3 separate regions of the Homo sapiens genome follow, and regions 2 and 3 are each linked to region 1. Evidence: promoter capture Hi-C in 16 types of primary human blood cells and fetal thymus (Javierre and others, 2016). All regions are on one chromosome and are shown on one strand. The core of a region is centred on a gene start or on the middle of the fragment in contact, and the rest is flanking DNA. Distances in the headings are between cores, read along the strand shown.

What was found. Contacts are between HindIII fragments. The CHiCAGO score rates a contact against its expected background, and 5 or more counts as called.
Region 2: a contact is called between the fragment with the promoter of LRCH1 here and the fragment with the promoter of NUFIP1 in region 1, in 3 of 17 cell types (naive CD8 T cells, activated CD4 T cells and total CD4 T cells). The highest score is 11.4, in naive CD8 T cells.
Region 3: the fragment with the promoter of EPSTI1 here is called in contact with the fragment with the promoter of NUFIP1 in region 1 in 3 of 17 cell types (naive CD8 T cells, activated CD4 T cells and naive CD4 T cells); the score reaches 13.7 in naive CD8 T cells.

What each region holds. Positions count from the first base shown.
Region 1 is chr13:44,986,899-44,991,284 of GRCh38, forward strand. It overlaps NUFIP1 (nuclear FMR1 interacting protein 1), which reads right to left and starts at 2,573. Exons shown (of 10, transcript NM_012345.3): 1 at 2,127-2,573. The coding sequence starts at 2,538. GPALPP1 (GPALPP motifs containing 1) reads left to right here and starts at 2,640. Exons shown (of 8, transcript NM_018559.5): 1 at 2,640-2,844. The coding sequence starts at 2,757. RefSeq lists enhancers at 2,111-2,749, 2,374-2,443, 2,634-2,823, 2,750-3,386. The HindIII fragment of the contact is 7,208 bases long and covers 1-4,386 here.
Region 2 is chr13:46,551,805-46,556,679 of GRCh38, forward strand. It overlaps LRCH1 (leucine rich repeats and calponin homology domain containing 1), which reads left to right and starts at 1,366. Exons shown (of 20, transcript NM_001164211.2): 1 at 1,366-1,899. The coding sequence starts at 1,593. RefSeq lists silencers at 1,310-1,499, 1,560-1,619 and enhancers at 1,823-2,523, 2,180-2,499. The HindIII fragment of the contact is 3,547 bases long and covers 211-3,757 here.
Region 3 is chr13:42,990,720-42,995,646 of GRCh38, forward strand. It overlaps EPSTI1 (epithelial stromal interaction 1), which reads right to left and starts at 1,522. Exons shown (of 11, transcript NM_033255.5): 1 at 1,259-1,522. The coding sequence starts at 1,446. RefSeq lists enhancers at 1,536-1,655, 1,916-2,155. The HindIII fragment of the contact is 6,494 bases long and covers 1-4,078 here.

The DNA.
Region 1 (4,386 bases), core at 1,323-3,822:
GTAGCCTCGACTTCCTGGGCTCAAGGAATCCTCCTGCCTCAGCCTCCCATGCTTCTAGGACCACAGGCATTCCACCACGCCTGGCTAATTTTATTTTTTTTGTAGAGACGGGGGTCTCACTTTGTTGCCCAGGCAGGTCTCAAACTCCTGGGCTCAAGCAATCCTCTTGCCTCTGCCTCTCAAAGTGCTAAGATTAGGCTGGGTGCAGTGGCTCACGCTTGTAATCTCAGCACTTTTCGGAGGCCAAGGAGGATGGATCACTTGAGGTCAGGAGTTCGAGATAAGCCTGGCCAACATGGTGAAACCTTGTCTCTACTAAAAATACAAAAATTAGCCAGGCATGGTGGCGGGCACCTGTAGTACCAGCTGCTCGGGAGGCTGAGGCAGGAGAATCACCTCAACCTGGGAGGTGGAGGTTGCAATGAGCCAAGATCACGCCATTGCACTCCAGCCTGAGCAACAGAGACTCTGTCTCAACAAATTAAAAAAAAAAATAAATAAAGTGCCCAGATTATAGGTGTGAGCTACCCTGCTCAGCCTAAAGTATTTTTTAATCAAGGTATGTAAGTTGTTTTTTAAGACATAATGGTATTGCACACTTACTAGACTATGGTATAATGTAAAAATAACTTTTTTGCCCCATAGGATCTGCAGGAAAACATACTTTTACATGCAACGGAAAACCAAAAAAAAAATAATTGTGTGACTTGCTTTACTGCAGTGGTCTGTAACTGAACCCACAAGAGCTCCAAGGTATCCCCAGATCTAGAATCCAACTACTTCTCACCATCCCTTGGGCTTCACCCTGGTCCAAGTCTCCAATATCTCTTGTTTAGAAAAGTAACTACAATAGCTTCCTAACCGGTTTCCCTTTCAGTCAGTTCTCACCAACAGACACATTAATCCTCTTAAAACGTAAATCAGGTCATGTCAATCCGCTGTACTACCCACCTCACAACAGTAAAAGTCAAAGTCCCACGATCTACAAAGACATACCAGGTCTTACCCTCCTCCCCCATCTTCTACAATTATACTCCAGACTCAGTCCTCTGTAGCCACACTGGTTCCCATTCTGATGTATAGCTTCTAAGCCTCAAGACCTTTGCACTTGCAGTTCCTTCTGCCCGTACCCCTATTCTCCCAGTTGTATGCATGGCTGTGATCTCTCACCTCCCTAAAGTCTTCGCTCATATGTCACCTTCCTTATGACTAACAATGACATTTAAAACTGCACTACCTGGCCCGGCGTGGTGGCTCATGCCTGTAATCCCAACACTTTGGGAGGCTGAGGCGGGCGGATGCCTGAGCTCAGGAGTTAGAGACAGGCCTGTCCAACACGGGGCAACCCCCTTTCTACTAAAAATATAAAAAATTAGCCGGGTGTGGTGGCGTGGGCCTGTAGTCCCAGCTACTCAGGAGTTTGAGGCATGAGAATTGCTTGAACTCGGGAGGCAGAGGTTGCAGTGAGCCTCTCTGCAGAGACTGCATAGGCTGGAGTGAAGTAGATCGCGCTACTCTTCACTCCAGCCTGGGCGACAGAGCGACACTCTGTCTCCAAAAAAAAAGAAAAAAAGAAAATCCTGCACTACTTACCATTCTTCTTTGTTTTATCTCTCTCCATGCCACTCAACCTTCTAATGCACAATATTTTATTTTGCTTATTGTCTGTCTTCCTACACAAGAGAGATAATATTAAGCTCCATAATATTTTTTGTATGTTCTGCTCACTGCTATATACCCAGATTCTGGTACATAGTCGGAATTCAATAAATAACTGCTAAATGGAATTAACAGTCAACAGGAAAACATTCTAGTCAGACATATTTTGAGAACAAAGGATTTACAATATTATATAAACTTAGTTGATAAAGCAGCCTCGACTTCCTGGGTTCAAGGAATCCTCCTGCCTCAGCCTCCCATGCATCTGCGACCACAGGCATGCCACCATGCCTGGCTAATTTTATTTTTTTTGTAGAGACGGGGGTCTCACTTTGCTTTGAGATGCTAATGACCAGACTCCAAGAGTGCAGAGGCAAGGCAGAGTAGAGAGAGGAAGCAGAGAAAGGGGAGAGGAAAGAACGGGGGAAAAAGGTAAAGGGGTCGACTCACGTGGAAAAATAGCCTACCTGCAGGGTTGAAGGACTTCTGATGCCGAGGAAACCTATCAGAAGACTGTCTCCAATACCACGATGTGGAAGCATGGAAATTCCAAGGCTGGCCGCTGGGTTGAGGCTGAGAATCAAGGGGAGACTGGGCGTCGAAGGGGGGTTGCGCCCCGGGAAGAATCTGGGCGTCGAAGGGGGGCGGAGCCCCGGGGAGAGACTGGGCCTCCATGGGGGGCTGCGACTCAGAGGAAGGCTTTGACCCGGCTGCGGGAAGCGAGGACGTAAGTGGTGGTGGCGGTGGCGGCAGCATTGCCCAGAACATCCAGCTGTCCCGCGGCGGGGCAGTGTCGCTCAGGGGCCCTAACGTGGGAGTCAGCTCGGGAGACGCATGCCACCCGATAGGAGTCTCGAAATCACTAGTCGGCTCAGCCATACCACTGGCGGGTCCGGAGTCTAGCACGCGACTGTGGAGCAAGCATTAGGCGTCACTTCCTTTACCGTGAACTACAAGGCTCAGCCAACCACAGGCTTTACGTCATTTCTCGGCGCCGGGAAACCTGCCATTCTTCGCTGCTGATCGCGGGATTCTTTTTGGATAGGGTTGACGTTCGTGGATAGACTCATATCTGTGACCAGTGTCCGCCACCGCGGATGGCAAGAGACCTGATCGGACCGGCCCTGCCGCCCGGCTTCAAGGCCCGCGGAACAGCGGAGGACGAAGAGCGGGACCCGAGCCCTGGTAAGCGGCGGCGTCTCCGCTGCCCACCAGGCCCATCTACCCACTCCCTGGCCGGGCCCTGCTCGCTGAAGAAAGTCGGAGGCCTAGGAGGGCGGAGGAGTGGGGAGTGGGCGCGGCCTGACCCGAGAGAACTTTTCTCTTCCCAAACAGTAGCAGGGGGGAGGAGGCTGGGGGACCCTCCTAGAAACGAGCTTTGGCGTGGTTTGGCTTCGTGATGATAATACATTCTCATTTAGCCTTAATATGAGCTGCACGCTGCCCTAACTGACTGATACCCACTCAGTCATTTAAGCCGTATAAGAAAAAAACTATTTTCCCATGTTGCAAATGGGTACGCCCAAGCCCATGCCAGTGTCTAGATCATACTGCTAGCAAGTGATGGAGCGCGACTTAGAAGGAAGCGGTTCTCTTAACCTCTGTGCCATATTGCCTTCTGATTACAAGAACCTTGCAGATCCTGTTCTCTCCAGCCCCCGACCTGCCTTCCTAGCCTCTCATTCTGTTATTGCATCTGACAAACACAGCCCAATACTCAATCCAGTCTGAGTTGCTGCGCAATTCCTTAACGCTCTAGGCTTCTGGGCTTCCTCTGGTTGCATTCCTAAACATAACTGACAAACTTCTCCCCATCCTTCAAGGCCCAACTTAAATGTCACACCAATAAAACCTTTCCAGATTCCCCGAAGCATTGTCATGCCTTTCTTTTTGCCCTCGGGTTTTTTCCTAATTACATTGCATATTTAGTACACTGTATTTGAATAATTTGTCGACATAATCTGTCTCCACCATTGCACTATGGTCTTCTACCTGAACACGCAACAGGCACTTGGTATATACGAAACGAATGCTTCTCGGATTCCGGCATGCATACCTATCTGCTTTAATGTTTATTCACATTTGTAGACTAGCACCGACACCCAGTTGGAGAAGAGTAAAGCTGAAAGAGTAACCCTGCCATTTCTGAATCTAATTTTTCTTCCTGGTCTACCCGGAGGCTATGTTTCTACTACAGGCCCCTTTCCAATATAATTTCTGTCATAACCACTTTAAAAATTATGCCTTCCAGCTGAGCGAGGTGGCACAAGCCTGTAATCTCAGCACTTTGAGAGGCTGAGACGGGGCGGATCACTTGAACTCAGGAGTTCAAGACCAGCCTGGCCAACATGTTGAAACCCCATCTCTACTAAAAATACAAAAATTAGCCGGGCGTGGTGGCGGGCGCCTGTAATCCCAGCTGCTCTGGAGGCTGAGGCAGGAGAATCGCTTGAACCCAGGAGGCGGAGGTTGCAGTGAGCCGAGAGTGCCACTGCGCTCCAGCCTGGGCGACGGAACGAGAGTTTGTCTCAATAAATAAATAAATAAAAGTAAATGTGAAAAATTATGCTTTCCTTCCTGTAGGAGATAGCTTTAAAAAAATAAAATAAGGCCAGGTGCGGTGGCTCACGCCTGTGAACCCAGCGCTTTGGGAGGCCGAGGCGGGCGGATCACGAGGTCGAGAGATCGAGACCATTCTGGCCAACATGGTGAAACCCTGTCTCTACT
Region 2 (4,875 bases), core at 116-2,615, 1.6 Mb after region 1:
TTCCAGCCTGTTGTCTAGGCCATCAAACTTATGTATTACCACTTAAAAAACCAGCTCCCCTACTCCAAGGGTTGCATTACTTTCGTGCTTGACACCCCGACAACCCCGCACCCACCCCCCGACTCATTTTCCCCAAGCCAAGTCGCTCATAGGGGACAATCAAGCCTTAAGAATAGAGCAAAAATAAAGGCCCTGGAAAGTTGGACATGAAGCTTTAACTTCAGGAAAGGAATGGTATTCTATTAATCGTCCAGCTGGTCTGCCCTTAGGGTGTCAGATGTTCTCTGTCGCCCCTGGTGTGCCAGCATTGGCCTGGGTGCCACTGGGTGGCTGATGGCAGAATGTGAATTCACTTGCAAGCGGACATGTTCGTTTCCATGCCCCAAAGCGGGAAGAAGAAGGGCACAAGGAGACTTCGATGGTTCTTTCAGCTCAGACTCGAGCTGTGACTGATTTGCTGTTTGGGGTCACTGGCTTTCTAGCCTCTCCTGGCACCACCCAATTTCGGGGAGCAGCCAGCTCATCTTTCTCCTACGACAATGTCTTCTGTCCCCCATAAACACTGCCCTCATTTTGAGTTTTTCTTTCCTATGTCTGTAGCTTTCTTCTGCCGCTCAGCAAACACTCTGTCCCACTCGTATTCGTCCCTTGGCGCTGGCGTCTGGCCCAGGGGTACACTGTGAAGGAGGGCAACCCTAGATTCTGAGGGCCCTAGCTCGAATCTAGCGCCCCTCTAACTGCAGGGGTGACCTTAGATACATTTATTAACTTCCTCTGTAGACTCAGGGGAACAACTTTGGCACTCCTGGGGTCCCTGGATTAATGAGGTAACTTACGTAGACTCCCTAAACAAGCGTCTGGTTCATTGTAAGCGCCCAAATGCCAGGGGGCATCTGCAGGGATGACCCCATAGTGAATGAAAACTGCCTCTTGGGGATCTCTGGGTTAAACGGCCAGAATAAATCGCAGAATTGAGAGAACCCTCTCCTGCCCCAAACCTCACTGTACTGTAAATCCCATTCATTGCCTCCCGCCGTTTTATCCGTGTTCTCAGACCACCCCCCTATCCCCGCAACCTCCAGTCCCCTAAAGCCTCCTGGGCGGCAAAAGGACGCCCAGAGAGAGGTTCGGCGCCTCAGTTGCCCCGGAGCAGACGTCCAGCCCCGCCGTGTACCCGATTGCGGGGCGGATCGCGGCAAGGCGGCGGCGGCCGGCAGAATAGGCGCGGAGGAAGGCTCAGGCGGGGCAGACTGCGTGGGGGAAGGAGGAGGAGAGAGCAGACGGCGGAGGAGGGCAGAGCAGCCGGGGGGAGGGCGCAGGGGCGGGAGGAGACACATGCGCGCTGCCGCCGCCGCCGCCGCCGCCGCAGTCCTTAGCTTCCCGGGGACAGGAAACCTTCAAGACCGAGCTGCCACGGCCGCCTCCCCGCCCGCCCCCCATTCTACGCGCCTGCCCACACCCTCCTCCCCTCCTTCCAGCGCCTTTCGGTGGAGCACTGCGGCACTCAGCCCGAGCTGCCGTTTTCCCCTCGCGGGGAACGCTGTGACCCCCCCGCAGGAGCGGCGGGGCGGGGTGGGGGGGCCCGGGAGAAGATGGCGACGCCGGGAAGCGAACCCCAACCTTTCGTCCCGGCCCTTTCGGTAGCTACTCTGCACCCACTTCATCATCCCCACCACCACCACCACCACCATCAGCACCACGGAGGAACCGGCGCCCCCGGCGGGGCGGGTGGTGGCGGCGGTGGCAGCGGGGGCTTCAACCTGCCCTTGAACCGGGGTCTGGAGCGCGCGCTTGAGGAGGCGGCCAACTCCGGGGGGCTGAACCTGAGCGCCAGGAAATTGAAGGAATTTCCCCGTACCGCAGCCCCCGGGCACGACCTCTCGGACACGGTGCAGGCAGGTGAGTGAGGGCCGAGGGGCGGGCAGGGGTGTGGGTGCTGTCTGGGTGTCTGTCGTGCGTTCCCTAACGCGGTGGACAGTCGGAGATCTTGTCTTGCTGGGGGAGGGAGGGTCCATCGGCCCGTTGTCTCCCGAAGAAGGGACTCGCGTGGGCGCGGAAGAAGCGGGCCCTGGAGAGGGCACGGGGGCCCTGCCTGGTCCGGCGATGCAGTGCCAGGAGGGCAGGGGTGCGCCGGGCCTCTGCGCCTGAGAGCGAGGGGTCTCCGGCTCTCCACCCTGTGGCTGCCGCGCCAGGGAAGTAACCGCGGGGCTGGGACTTGCAGGCGCGCCGCGTGCGCGCAGTGTAAGTGGGAGGTTTCAGGCGGCTGTGTCGGCTTCCTGGGCCCCGCGCAGGGCTGGGAACTCCAGCGCGGACAGCGGCGTCGGCGCCTCCAACCAGTTCAAGCCGTCTTTGCATCGAGGCGTAGCCCATCCTGGTGGGGAAACCCAGACAAAGGTGGCACGCCCTCGGCCGAGCCAGGGGCATCGGCGCAGTGCCGCGAGCCCCCTCGGCGACATCGCCGAGCGATCGGGCAACTCGGTGCCGCCTGTGAGGTGCCCAAGTTTCCTCTCCCTGCGCTTGTGCGGGAAAAGAGCCGCCGGGCTTGTAGTGAATCCCAGTCGGCTGCCGCTTCGGAAGCGATCGGCCCTCTTCCTTCCGTGCCTTTTGCTCACCGCCCACACAGTTTGGGTCCTACCACCGAGGCTACCTGGTTCTCAGTTACCCAACCGTTGCGGGGGCCCCAGGAAAGGACGGCGTGGCATATTAAAGGCAAAGTAATTAACGTGAGCCTGTTTTCCTGTGTGAGCCCGGCAAGTTGTAACTCGCGCCAATAAGCAGCATAACTTTTTCAAGTTACGTCATGTGTTACATACTTCTAAAACGTCTGCTTTCTCTTTGGTAGTTGGAGTTCCAGGAGCGGGATCTATAAACAGGAAGGAGGGTGGTGGAATAGGATTGGGGCCTTAGGGTCTATACAGAACTGACTTGGTTTCCGGCCATCCGGTTCCGCTCCCTGGGGGAGGGTTTGTGTCATAGCAAGCGCCCAACATTTCCCAGGGCAGTGGGTGCTCCGTTTTGGAGCCGCTGCCCAGACCTCTTGGCTGTCATCGCCTCATGGCCCAGGGTCAGACCCCCTGGGTCTTGGATGGGTTGACTCTCATCACAGGAGCACCCAGTTTAATCTTGTAGTGGGCAAGGGAGCAGGCAGTGGGTTTTTGGAGGCTAGGTTTCCAGTGTCTTTTCCCCCTTTTAATTCAATAAACATTTATCTAGAGCCTTAATGAATATTTAGATACAGTTCTGAGTTCACTGGAGGCAAAGATGGCTCTCCAGGGTCATTAAACTTTGTAATTTGGATTTAGGGATAGTCAGGAATCGGCAAAAAAGAGGGAATTTCCAAAGTTGAGCTGTCAACAGCTGGGGAGTGTCTTTCAATAAGACCTCTTAGTTACATCTTCTCAAGTGGAACTTATTCCAAGAATTGCCTGAATCACTGACTTAAAAAACTACATTAAATTTTACTTCCCTTCTGCTATAGAGTGTACCGTGAGCTAGCTATGCTATGGTTGGCTATATCTGCAGAAAATAGAGCTGGCATGACTAATAATAATAGGTTTGTGTAGTTCAGTAAGGGGGCTTCATAGTTGTTCTACTTCAGTTATGCTAAGGATTATTTACAAAGTTAGGTGAACTTGATGTGTCTGCTGTGTTGGCATTTCTTTGAGAAGACCAGTGCTTTTAGGGATCACATCTTTTAGCTAAGACCTCGCCATGTGAAGTGGATGCTGAAAGTGTTCTTGTTGGCTTGTTTATGGCAAGCTTAAGTTGTGAGTTTTGCAGGTTTTTATTTATGAGCTCACTTGCACATGTTTTATGCTCAGGAAAATCTAACTGGTTAAAATTCAGAGGCTTTATGTTAATTCCTCATCCAAAAATACAGTATTATTTGGGGGAAGAGGAGTGGAGGGATATTCATGTTTGTAGAAACTTAAGTCAACCCCATCAGAAAAGTATTCATTGCAGCTAGTTATTTTACATGAAATTAGAATACCCAAATGTATTAAATATTTGCTTCTGCAAAACGTCTTTGCCTCAGGTCAAAAGCTAGGTGTAAACCACATGTACTCTTTGTTCTAAAGATAAATTTAATTGAGCACAGTTTCTTATTTGAGAGACCAGAAAGCAAAATAAAGAGTTAAAGTTACCTCCGGTGTACACAGTGTTGACACAGCGTACATGTAAGAGTTCTAGTACAGTTGAAAGTTTGAGTAGTAACATTTATAATAAAGATAGTGGTTTCTCCTTGACTCATATTTACTTTAAGAATGTCTCTTAAAATTAGAATGGCATATGAAGATCCTTAAAGGCCTAAGAGGCAAAGTGGATTTTTTTTTCCATATATTTTCTAAGACAGGGAGTGGTAGAGCAAGCTTTTTCTCACAGTTTTGTTGTATATTACAGGCCATTTGGTTTACGCCTTGTAAAAAGTCAGGCTTCTGGCAGCCACCTGTGCAGAACTGCACCTGGGCAATATAGCCCATCTGAACAGAGTGGAAAACCAAGATGTAAACAAAGAAACATAGAATAGATGTCTAAGCTGTCACTCAAGTGCATATACTTTATTGATAGGAAAAAATTCAAGCTCTCATTTTGAGCCTATTAATTTACTTCTATTTGAATCAAAATAAGTTTTGTTGTCAGAGTCTAGTCTTTTAATAGGTGAAACGGGGAAAGAAAGACTGATCCACGCAGGTGCAGTGAGTGACACAGGTGTCACTGATGGAAAGGGACAAAACAGAAGAGCCACTATCAGCACTGGGTGCGCCTCTCTATGCGTTATCTGCATGATCTTAGTCCCCACTAGGAGCCCAGTCATACCCTCATTTATACATGGGAAGACTGAGACAGAGACAAGTTACATAATATGCTGAAGAT
Region 3 (4,927 bases), core at 272-2,771, 2.0 Mb before region 1:
GGTACTTTCCAAAAGCTAAGGGATGAAAGAAAATCTACTGTTTATCGGCCATAAGGTTATATACTGTTTCTTAGCAACCAGGGTTTGTCTTTCAGAGACTAGAAGTCGATGAAAAAGGAGAGACTAAAAATAAAACCATCTGGACAGTTCCAATTCACAGAGGCAGCACTTCAAAGGCAGTGATGTTGTGATAAACCATACTGTTGAGTTAAAGTTCATTCCATTGGCTAGAAAGAGAGGCTCATGACACTTGCTTAATAAATGTTTCCCGGATACTCACTGCAGTCCCTGAACCAAAGACCAGGAATAAAAGCTACCTATCTGTTCCTGCATAGAGCACATATCAACATCAGGGATGAGAGGTACTATGGTCACTCACCTCCTCACTCTCTCAGCTCCACTCCTCTGGTTGTAAGAGGCTAGTTTATCTGCGAGTCTTGCTGGGACGTAGGCTTGCTCCTACCTAGAGGCAGAATTTGAACCTTCTACCCCATATCACATTTCTTGTTGACCCTTACCTGTTAGTGTCTGATACAGTAATTCCGTTTAGGACACCAAGTTTTGTTTTTCTGTTTTGTTTTGTTTTGAGACAGTCTCGCTCTGTTGCCCAGGCTGGAGTGCAATGGCGCAATTTCCGCTCACTGCAACCTCCGCCTCCCGGGTTCAAGCGATTCTCCTACCTCAGCCTCCCAGGTAGCTGGGACTACAGGCACGTGCCATCACACCCAGCTTATTTTTTATTTTTAGTAAAGACTGGGTTTCACCATGTTGGCCAGGCTGGTTTCGAACTCCTGACCTCAGGTGATCTGCCTGCCTTGGCCTCCCAAAGTGCTGGGATAACAGGCTTGAGCCAACGCGCCTGGCCCAGCACCAAATTTTTAAAAACAGTAAGGGAAAAGTTATTTCCATACTGGTTGGAGTATGAGTTCTGGAGATACCTGGAAAATGACATCTTACTGGATGCCTAGGCAGTTCCGACACACCCATATCTTTCAATCCTGTAGCCAGTCACAAAAATCAGGAAAGTAGTATTCCTGGAAGGAACCGGGCTGGTTATTTACCAAAGGACTGCAAACTAGCCGACTCAATTTATAAGGTGCGGCATGGATACTTTCATTTAAGCAAATGAGCTTTCATTCAGTCAAAATCCCTGTTGTTGGGCCCCTGTGGTTTTAAACTCCAAGGACCAAGGTGCTTGTGAGTGAGTATGTTTGGGGCCCGGGCTCCCGCCCCGAAGCCAGGTTGTTAAAATACTCACCGCCTCTGGCCCGCGTGCACGACGCTCTCCCGCGAAGGGCCCTTAGGGGCTGCCTCCAAACCCTCTCTCTGGTCTTCCACGGGGCTCAGCTCCCCTTGCCGCCCAGAAGGGTCCTGGGGATCCCGGGTCGGGCGGGAGGCAGGGGAGGCGCCGAGCCCGGAGTTCACCACTCTATTGCGGGTGTTCATGGTTCACAGCCCGCGGGTCCCGGGCCGCCGTCGCTGCGGGAGGGATGCGGCTGGGACGCTTAGCGAGTCTCAAGATGGGATTCCAAAGTGCAGAGGCAGCGGTTTTAACAGCTGAGTTTCGGTTTCTCAGAATCAGCAGCAGACTGCGCCCGCCCCAGAGAACTTCCCCACGTATTCTCCACTGAGGCCCCGTCCGACCTTATCGCGGGTTAACAGCCCAGGATGTTGACTTGAGCTGGCTTGGTCGGCTACAGGTGAGACGGTTTAAAGTCTCACAATCACCTTAGAGGTTAATCAGAATAACTGGGATCAGCCACGGACACCTGGTGAGCGATTAGCCCGCAGAGTGACTACAATCCTGAAAGATACTTGAGAAACTGTTTAACAGGCAACTCTAATTTGAGGTTACCGCTGGATATTTGAGACTGTAAAAAATATATTAACCTTAAAATACCAGAGATTAGGTCAATAACTAAAATCATCTCAACAAAATGTCGCCTTTTATCAGTAATGACTGCTGTGTGGCTGTTACCAATGCACATACTTTCAAGTTAGAGGAAATGGAAACTGAAATCAAAAGAAAACAAAAACCTACAAAGCCGGAGAAGTAAGCTAAGGTAGACATGATTCTCCAGGCAGCCTTGCTAAGTAATTGACTAGACATTCGAGAACTATTAAAAATACCTGCTCTGTGCAGAACAGTGTGCAACGGTGATGTGGGGACATTTTAAAATATGGATGTGTAAGGCTCAGTTCCTGTAGGTTCAGGGGTGAGCTCTGGCATTCATATTTTTGAAAAGCTCCCAGATGATTCTGATGTGTGCCAGGGTTGGTCACCAGGGTCACAATGCCGTCTACACAAAGATGAGTGAAGGCTCTTCCCTCATGCTACCTGCATTCTAGGAGTATCCTAGTAGACAGGTAAACAAATGGGAATGCCACTTTGGGATAAATGAAATGACAGGCAGCTGTGGAGGCACAGAGAAACTGGGGATTAGCCCTCTGAGTAATTCAGGAACAGGGACATTTGAGAATGAGCCACCAAAGACATAGGAATTCACCAAGAAGAAGGAGATGCTATGGCAGAGGCTTGTCACTTAAAATGACATGGTGTGTACTTAATTCCAGGGGTTGTCATGTGGCTGGAGCACCCCAGTCCTAGGTCAGCAAGACAGTTAGGAGCTGGACTGTCTTCCTTATATTATTGGTGCTTAGAACAAAAAGACACATACAGGTTTGATAGCTAATGAAAGAATGAAATTGAAGGGTGGGCCAGGGTGGGACAGGAGAGGAGAAAATAATGACAAGGAACATGGTAGGAAAGTCAGTCAGGATTTCTATGCCATCCTAAGACATTAGGGTTTTGTAGAGTAGGCCAGAGTTTCACAAATTTCAGTAAGCATCAGAACCACTTGGAGGAGGGTGCGTTAAAACAGATTTATGGCCAGGCACGGTGGCTCACTCCTGTAATTCCAGTACTTTTGGAGGCCGAGGCAGGAGGATTACCTGGAGATCAGGAGTTGAAGACCAGCCTAGCCAACGTGGCGAAACCCCACCTCCACCTGGGCGACAGAGAGAGACTCCATCTCAAAAATATATATATATAGTTTCTGATTCAGGTCTGGGATGGGGCCCAAGGATTTGCATTTCTAACAAATTTCCAGGTGATACCAATGATGCCAGTCTCAGGATCACCCTTTGGGAACCACTGTTGTAGGCAATGTGGAAGGCACAGGAAGTTTTTCAATAGGGCAGTTACTCAATAATATCTGTTTTACAAAGTTAGCTTCTAACAATGTGAAAACGGAGATTGAAAGATGAAGAGACTGAAATCGGGAAGATAAATTCAGAGCCTAGTTACGTCTAGGTAAGAAATACAGATCTGAGCTAAGGCAACCCAGAAAGTGGGGAGCAAAATCAAGACATTTCACATGGGCCAGGCTCAGTTGCTCATGCCTGTAATCCCAGCACTTTTGGAGGCTGAGGCAGGAGGATCACCTGAGGCCAGGAGTTTAAGGCCAGCCTGGGCAGCATGGTAAGACCTCATCTCTACAAAACAAATAAATAAAACATAAAAGACATTTCACATGAGAGATTAGCATAGATAAAAACTAGATGAAAGAGAGAATTGAGTACTGGAAGGCAGCAGAGAGAAGGGGAGATGGCTTTTATAGTGCTTTGAGACCAGCTTTGCCACATACTGGCCACACAACCAAGGCCAAATCTCTTAATTCCTCAGAGATCCAGTTTCCTCCTCTGCCTCATGTGGGTATTGTGAGGAATAGAGATCATCCACATCAGTGGTTCTCAAATGGAGTTGATTTTTCCTCTAGCAGACATCTGGCAATGCCTGGACATATTTTTGATTGTGAAGCCTCAAAGTGGGTAGGTGCTGCTAGCATCTAGTGTGTAAAGGCCGGGGATGCTCCTAAACATCCTACAATGCACAGAATAGGCCCACATGACAAAGAGTTGTCCTGCCCCACGTGTCAACAGTGTTGAAGTTGAAAAATCCTGATCTTCACAGTATGCCTACCTTATAGCCCCAGTAATTTAATGGTTGCTGTCTTTATGGTGACTTTTAGCTTTGTGACTGGATACGAGGTAGAACCATTAACCTAGAGGAGGGACAAGCTTTGAGGGAAGTTCTAAAAGTCTGTTTAGGTGCTGTTGGGTGTAAGGTACCAGCGGGGTGAGAAACGCAGACCTAGAGATCAACAAAAAAGAGGAACAGCAGGGCCTTTCTGGAGGCCATCTTCCACATTGTTCTTTACTAGGAAAATACCCCTGGAACTCTTGTTTCAAAGGAGAAAATTATTTTGGTGGTTGGATGAAATTTAAAGTTTGAGGAAGGGAAAACCCACACTGGGGGAAAACTGATTCTCCTAAAGGAGCTAGTAATAGGGATGTTGGCCTCAAGAATATACTTAGTTAACCATATTTGTTTCACAACACAACCACATGTCACACCAAAGTTTCAAACCTGAGATTTCTCACTCCATTCACTTCTTGTTTTACCTGAGATTTCTCACTCCATTCACTTCTTGTTTTGCCACATTCTCAAAGTGTTTTAAAAAATGTGAATGTGAGGCTGGATGCGGTGGCTCACACCTGTAATCCCAGCACTTTGGGAGGCCGAGGCAGGCGGATCACGAGGTCAGGAGATCGAGACCATCCTGGCTAATACGGTGAAACCCTGTCTCTACTAAAAATACAAAAAATTAGCCGGGCGTGGTGGTGGGCGCCTGTAGTTCCAGCTATTCCGAAGGCTGAGGCAGGAGAATGGCGTGAACCCGGGAGGCGGAGCTTGCAGTGAGCCGAAATCATGCCACTGCACTCCGGCCTGGGTGACAGAGCGAGACTCCGTCTCAACAACAACAACAAAAAAAAGTGAATGTGATTTATTATGGCAACAGACATCTACAGGCTCCTTTTGGATGCCCGAGAATGGGCTACTTGTGTATCATCCATTCTTTCACCG